Regions from separate parts of the Homo sapiens genome. Here region 2 is linked to region 1. The links are contacts of gene promoters, found by promoter capture Hi-C in blood cells and fetal thymus (Javierre and others, 2016). All regions are on one chromosome and are shown on one strand. Each heading gives the region's core, a stretch centred on a gene start or on the middle of the fragment in contact. The rest is flanking DNA. Distances are from core to core; before and after follow the strand shown. Region 1 holds the start of HINT3 (histidine triad nucleotide binding protein 3). Region 2 has its middle 11 kb from the start of CENPW.

Evidence for each region. Contacts are between HindIII fragments. The CHiCAGO score rates a contact against its expected background, and 5 or more counts as called.
Region 2: a fragment that was not itself captured here is called in contact with the fragment with the promoter of HINT3 in region 1 in 1 of 17 cell types (fetal thymus); the score reaches 5.1 in fetal thymus.

Annotation. Positions count from the first base shown.
Region 1 is chr6:125,954,924-125,958,954 of GRCh38, reverse strand. It overlaps HINT3 (histidine triad nucleotide binding protein 3), which reads right to left and starts at 2,185. Exons shown (of 5, transcript NM_138571.5): 1 at 1,777-2,185. The coding sequence starts at 1,977. RefSeq lists enhancers at 963-1,012, 2,073-2,172 and a silencer at 1,683-1,902. The HindIII fragment of the contact is 9,214 bases long and covers 880-4,031 here.
Region 2 is chr6:126,349,559-126,353,526 of GRCh38, reverse strand. It overlaps a transcript of CENPW not described here. Among named protein-coding and RNA genes, the nearest start is that of CENPW, 11 kb to the right of the region's middle. The HindIII fragment of the contact is 188 bases long and covers 1,380-1,567 here.

The sequences.
Region 1 (4,031 bases), core at 936-3,435:
CATCTTTGACTTCACCCTCTTTCATTTCCTTATCCTCTTATATCTAAATCAGGGTTTCTAAACCTTGGCACTTCTGACATTTTGAGGGCTGGATAAGCCTGTTTTATGTGTGTGTGTTGATGGGGTGGTGGGGGTGCTGTCCTGTGCACTGTACCATGTTAATAGCAACCCTGGCTTTTATCCATTATTTAGGTCCCAGAAGCAACCCCTAGAAGTGCCAGAAGTTGTTACAATCAAAAGTATCTCAATACATTGCAAAATGTACCCTGGGAGGGCAAAATTGCCCCCAGTTGAGAATCACTGACCTGTATCCATCAAGTCCTCCCTGTTTTACCTCCTGAATACTGTATCCCTTAAATTGATATACTTTTCATAATCTCCTCTACCACATTCTCATTTCAGGCCATCATCAGGGTAGATTAATCTACTAGCCTTCTAACGGGTCTCCATACCTCCAGACTGGTCTCCTCCAAATCATTCTCCACAATGATGCCAGAATGACCTTTCAAAGATCAACCCCCTTCCTATAACTCCGCAACATCTTCCTCCCAACCCACCATTAAACATTGTGAAGTTTCACTTTGCTCTTCAGATAAAGACAAATTCCTTCACATGACTTCCAACACACTTAATAATCTGGTCCCTTGTTTACCTCTCCAGCCTCGCCTTTCATCCTCTCAAACTCTATGCACTAGTTAGACAATTTCTGTTAGTTTTTCTATCACACAAACTGAACCTCTCGGGGGGTCTCTCAACCTGGGACATTATTCTCTCCATTTCCTCATCTGATCAACTCCTACTTATTTCTTCATGTCTCATTTCCTCTGGAAAGCCTTCCCTAATTCTTCAGAGCTGGGTTAGATGCTCCTCCCACAAGCTTACAAAATACTGTAAAATCACCTGACCACAGCACGAGGCATTGTAACTGGCTACCTCCTCTGTATACATTCCGCCCTTTAGATTGTAAAATCGGGACACAGACTGTCCCTTATCTTGCTCAAAAACCTCCAAAACAAGGTGCTTAGAAGGAATTATATTTATTTTTTAAAAAATAAAGGAATGTTTACTACAAAAGACACAATCTTTGGAGCTAATTCTCTCAAAAAGTTGTTTCTATATGGACAAGTAAAACCAACAGAATAAAGTGTGTGCCAGATTATCCGTTTAAAAATATCTGGGCAAAGTCTTCATGCTCTGAAAATGTCCACGCATCCCAACTGACAGTGGAATTCAGAGGCAATTCAATAATAGTTTGACCTCAGACCCACTCCCTCCAGCCTATTTTCTGCCAATCTAACAAACAGCTTTCCACAATTATCATTACCTATTTTCTACTAGTTTTCTCATCAGTATCGGTATTAGAGTGTGCAGGATTTAAAATCAGTATCTTGAAGGTGGAGAAGAATCCTTGTAATAAAAGCAGAGGCCACAAAATGTTATTTGTACCAACTACCTGGGTACCTGCAAACATAGGCCAAAGCATTCGGCCCTGTCATTCACTCTTTGCCCCTGGGAACAGCAAAGATACCGCTGGAGCCACTGCCTGTCAGTCCCCTAGGAGTGAGTCTGTCATCAGCACCCGGACCCTGCAGAAAGGCCCGTAGTGGGCGTATCCCCAGCTTCCCCGAGCCCCATCCACACAGAGCGGCCCTGCCTCTGCGAGCTGAGTAGCGATCGGGATCCTCTGCACCCGCTCCACAACGGCGAGGCCTCCCTGCCGGAGCTCCGAGGGGCGGCCAGGTCCTCACCCACCCCCGGCCGCGCGTCGCCGCCCACCTCGCAGTGCAGGAGTTCGGTGCCCGGGTCCTGCCGCCCCGCGATCCGGCAGAACACGCAGGTGCTGTCGTAGTCCTTGGGCTCTGGTGACTTGCCAGCGGCTTCACAGGTCCCCACTGAGGAAACCGTAGTTTCTGCAGTCGCCGAGGCCTCACAGTCGGGGGCCAGGCCGGCGCTGCGGTTCACCTGTTCCTCCGCCATTGCACCCGCCCCTCGCGGCCTAGAGCCTCGGCCTCTCCAGGGCTACCGGGCCCGCGCAGTCTCCGCGTCCCGCACCTCCTCCGTTTTACCTCGAGACGTCGCCCCTCGCCTGACGCTGGGCGGTGATCCAGGCTTTGGGGAGAGGGAAGGAGACGCGGTGAGGAACTTCAAAGCCGGAGGCCGGCCTCAAAACCGGCTGCCACTAGAGGGCGCGCAATGGCGCTGCCGAGAGTCGTCCTGACCCCTGCGCCTCGTTGGTAATGACGCACGACGTCTGCCAAGTCGCAGAGCGCCCAGCGCGTCGTGGTGACATCACAGAGGCGCGGGAGCGTTTGACATAATGGAGCTTGTTGGGTGTTCTGGACAGGCGTTCTTCAAAGCCCATAGTATAGCGTGTCCAAATATTGTATTACGCTGCCGTTTTTTTAAAAAAAAAAACAAAAAGTTTTTTAAAGTTTGATTTTTAAAATTCGTAGGTTTTTAAAGAATGAGCAAAATTCCTAAAGCCTTGTTTTCAACAGACATCATGTTTGCTGCTTTTTCAGCCACGATAATTGTAGGAGTTTAAACTCAAAATGTCCAAAACTGACCTTTACATCTCTGTTGACTTTTTATTGTTGTTAACAGCACAGTTAGATCAAACTAGCGACCTTTTTTTTAATCTCACATTCCTCATATACAAGTAGATGTGGAGTCCTATAGTCAATACTCTGAAATATCCCAGAAATTCAATGCCAGTGCCTCATAATGCCTCACCTAGACCAACGCAATCACCTTCTAACTTACTTATTGATTTTCCTGTCACTCAGACAAAACCTTCTGTAACTATGTGCTCAAAGAAAAAGTACCAGTTCCTTAGCTTGGTGTTCAAGGTGGACTCTGATTTGACCTCAGCTTTTCGTTTTGTGATACTTCCCACTTGCTGAGCATCTAAAACATGCCATATATTTCTCTAATTGTCAAAAAACGCAAGGTTGGTTTTATAACCACCGCTCTAGAGATGAAGGACCAAACTCAGAGTTGCCCAGTCCCACACAACTAATTAATAGTGACAGAGTTTAAGATCAAGGTTTGTCTAACTCCAAAACCCACCAACCTTTTTGACATACAGCACTCCTTTTTTAACACCAAAAAATTTGTTGGACTAGCTCACTATAGTAGTTACACCCTTGGTATTTGCTGATTTAGAAAATACATAACAAATTGGGAATTCAGTAATGATTTTTAATGGATTTATGTTGTAATAAAAAGTGGTTGTATGTGTTTTGAATTGTTGTACATATACATTCAAGACATTTTTCATTCCTTTTTGTAGTTGGCCCGTAGTTTGGGGAACCACTACAATAGCTTCACTGCCTTTCAGCACCCCAAAGCAGAGTTCAGAATCAATACATTAGAGTTTTGCCAAATTTTAGTATTCACAATTTCCATGCCTGTACTACACCTTCACATCACTGCTTTTATTCACACAGTTCTCTCTCAAATATTCTTGTTTCCATCTCTTCACTCCAAATTCTACCTTCCAAGCCACCCCTCCAATGCTACCTCCTTCATGAAATTTTCTTTAGCCAAACTGACATAAGCACATCCTCTTGCAAATTCATATAACAGGTTTTCAATATTTCTCTTGTAGGATTTGTCTCTTTGTATCTTATAGCTATTTATGTACTTATTTATCCTGCTAGGAATTATGTTTCTTGGCAACAAGATTGGGTGTGTGAATCTTCCATAATGCCTAGTACAGTTGGAACAGGAATTAAAGAATATGTAAGCAAAAACTCAGTTGTATGTAAGAAAACCCAGTTCCCCCTGAGGAGGAGAAAGAGGTAGAGTCCTTTAAAAATTAACTGCCTGTTTTTCTATCTGTGGCTAGTGAGCCTTATCTCTCCCTTTCCCAGGCATTGTGAAGACCCTGTTTCTCTAGCTGTGCAGCTGCAAAGTCACTAGACAGATAAACTCAAGTCATAAAATATGTTTTTCCTTGAAAAGTAAGAAATTATGTAATGCATATCTCAATTAAATAACTGTCATTTTTCTTACTTCTGTAATATGCT
Region 2 (3,968 bases), core at 224-2,723, 400 kb before region 1:
AGCAAGATTGCTGAAAACCAGAAAGAAAAACCTTTAGCAACAGATTTTTTTAAAAAAGACATATTACCCTCTATAAGCCTAACTTCTAAAAATATGAGAGAAGCCTGAAGACATAAAATGACATTTTAACATTATTTGCTATAATAGGCAATCTAGACTTTCCTATCTGATGAAAATATCTTTCAAGTTTAAAGTGAAATATTCTATCAGAAAAAAAAGAAAACAGGAAATGTACTACCAAGAAACAGTTACTACAGGAAAATAGTAAAGAGAGTTCTTCGGGTTGTTAAAAAAAAAAAAAGATCCCATAGGGAAATATAAAATTGTTAAAGAAATGATCAGCAAAGAAAACGGTAAATGTGATAATATAAATATTCACTTAGTAGTGACAGTACCAAGTCATACTAGTAATACATTTGTGTCTATATGGTTGGTTTAACAAATGTAAAATTAAAATAATCAAAAGGCAGCAAGTAAATGGCATTAAAGCCTTCTAAGGTTCTAGAAATAGTCAACAGTGCAGATTATAATCTTTAGTAAAAGTTTATATAAATAGCAGATTGATAGAGGATATAACAAGTCAATGATGCATGTTATAATTCCTAGTATAAGAATGTATAACTAGAGTAATAAAGAATAAAATGAATCATAAAAGTTAATTCAAAAGAAAATAAAAGCAGAAAGAAAAAGGTGCTGGGTCACATACACCAGCAAATTGTAAAATGTATAATAGAAACCAAATGTAGCAGTAATTACATTAAATGTAAATGGACTGCAAATTCCAATTACTAAGACTACCAGATAAGATGAAAACACAAAACCCAAATATACACTGATTATGAGACACACTTTAAAGGATGCAGGATGTTTGTAAGCATCATGATGGAAGATATATATCATACAAATGCTAACCAAACAAAACTCTTATAGCTAGTTGGAAACAGGAAATGCCAAGTCTCAGTAAGGTAGATTCCTTCAAAAAGGAAATACAAGCAACATGGATTAGAGATGATAATATCTCAAGAAAACAATGTAAATAGTTGTTTTACTGGTGATAACTGGAGTATCTCAAAACTCTATCCCTCACTAAATTCAATCAGAAGTGTCATACTTCAGTGTAGCTAATATAAATAAAAAGCCTCTAGAGTATCAATCCCTCTTTTGCCATTTTGGCAACTCAAGTAAAAGCAAAATACAGAGGTTAGGGCAAGAATTATCTAACACAGGGGTCAGCAAACTTCTTCTGTAAAGGGTCAGATACTAAGTAACTTGGCTTGCAGGACACAGTATTTGCTGCAACAACTCAACACTACCCTAAGTTGTAGTAAGAAAACAGCCACAGATAAGCAGCACATGTGTGCCTGTGTTCCAATAAAGCTTTATTTACAAAAATATTGCCAACCTGTGATCTAGAACAGTTGTTCTCGGAAGCATGGCCCCTGGATGGCAACACTAGCATCACCTGGCTACCTGCTAGAAATACAGATTCTCAGCTCCCACCTAAATAGAATCAGAATCCCCATGAGCAATCTTTATTTTAACAAATCTTCCAGGTGATTTTGAAGCTTAGTAAAGCTTGAAAACCACTGACCTAGGGAGTATACTGTTATTAAACTTACCTACAGCCACAAGGTGCTATATTGATTGTCAAGATTAAAATACTGAGGAAGAAGAACTAAATATCCATCTTAAGGTCTCATACCCATCTCATGTTCATCAATCAAGACCTCAAATGAGGTTGAGGATTTTAAAGAAAAAAAAAAATGAAACCCACAGTTGAGATATAGACCACCCATAACCATGAAGCCAAAACTGAAGTCACCCTGATTTTCCCAAAAAGGAAAATATGTGGCCAAAAACAGTAGTTACTAAATGTACACATGGGGAAACTAAGGCTCCAGTTAAATTACTTGTTCAAGGTCTCACTGACTCTCTTCAACATCCAGAAAAAAATGCAGTTAATCTAATAAACACATCTTCCCCCACCTCTAATAAACTCCACATTCTAGATTCTCTTTCTTTTCTAAGTCAGGTAGGGAAGTATGTGGCATATAAACACCCCAGACGACACAGAAAACAAGCCAATACATTTATCATATCACTATTACTATCCTCATTTTGACTTTGGTTTAGTTCAGTCTCTAACTCCCCAACATGAAAATGCTGGAGTTATAATTTTTTACCAAAACAGCAAAATTCCTATCTACAAGAAAGCCTCCCAAAAGGAGGCTTTTGGGTATCACACAGGTATCACAAAAGTCACCCAAAAGGAGGCTTTTGGCTGTGTGGTATCACACGGATAATATCACCTACTTCTACTGACTCTAGCAACTTCCCTCATCCTACTCCACTTACACACACACACACACACACACACTCACTCTCTCTCTTTCTCCTCCACCTTGCCTGTTTCAGGAACAAGGCAGTGGGATTAACTATCACTATATAAGAGATAGAAAATATGGGGAAAACATCATTAAAAAAAAAAAGACATTACCTCTGAGCACATTAGTTCTGTCTTAAAACCAAAATTCCCTAGTCCAGCTCTTGAAGGAAAAATAACATTTTGATATTAATTACATTTAAAGAACTATTCAGCATTAACTACATATTCTAGTTGTTTTTTTTCAAATTTACATTCTCTTGAGAAGTCCTATTTATTTATAACTATTTTTGTTCAGAATATAATTTTATGTTAAACATGTATACTTACATTACAAATAAGATTTAAATTTTTTCACATTAATGCTTTAAAAAATTACTAATTTGGAAACATATATGTATTACTATATTATGCTGAACTATGAATCCATGAGGCTTTCTGTTCAAGACTGACCACACAGGTATTCTTTCCCTTATATCTCATTAAAGTATAAAAATGTATAAGTCAATATACAGATGGCAAATAAGCACACGAAAATATGTTCATCATCAGCTATTATGGACTAAATGTTTGTGTCCCCCAAAATTCTTACATTGAAATCTAATCACCAGTGTGATGGTATTAGGAGGAACGACCTTTGGGAGGTAATTAGGTCATGAGAATAAAGTCGTCATAAATGAGATTAATGTCCTTTAAAAGGAGGCAGAGAGCTCTCTGGCCTTTTTTCCTCCGTATGAGGACAGAATGAGAAGTTAGCAGTCTGCAACTCAGAAGAGGACCCTCACCAGAACCTGACTGTGCTGGCACCATGATCTCAGACCTTCCGCCCATCAAAACTGTGAGAAAAAAATTTATGTTATCTATAAGCTATCCAGTGCATGGTATTTCATTATACCAGCCTAAACTAAGACATTAGCCATCAGGAAAATGTAAATTAAAACCACAATGCTGCATATTCTTGCCAGAACAGCTAAACTAAAAAATAGTAACATTACCAAATATTTGTGAGAATATTAAGAAAGTGGATTTCCCATACACTGCTAATGGAAATGTAAAATGGTACAGCCACCCTGGAAAATCATTTGGCCATTTCTTTTTAAAAAATTAAACCTGAGCCAACCGAACACAGCAGCTTGCACCTGTGATCCCAGGTGCAAGAAGGAGGCTACTCAGGAGGCTAAAGGAGGATAACTTTAGCCCAGGAGTTTGAGGCTGCAGTGTGCTATGATCACACCACTGCACTCCAGATTAAGTGACACAGCAAGATTCAGTCTTTTAAAAAAAATAAATAAAAATTAGGCCTATACTTACCATGAACTCAGAATAAAACTCCCAGGGAAATTAAAATTTATGTCCATATAAAATCCTGCAGATTACCCTTCACAGCGATTTTATTTGTAATAACCAAAACTGTAAGTAACCAAAATGCCCCTCAATTTAAGTGAATAGTTATACAAACTGTGGTAATTCCATACTACAGAATACTACTCAGTAATAAAACGGAACAAACTATTGATACATGTAACAACTTAAATGGATCTCAAGGACAATATACTGAGTGAAAAAAATCCAATGCCCAAAGGTT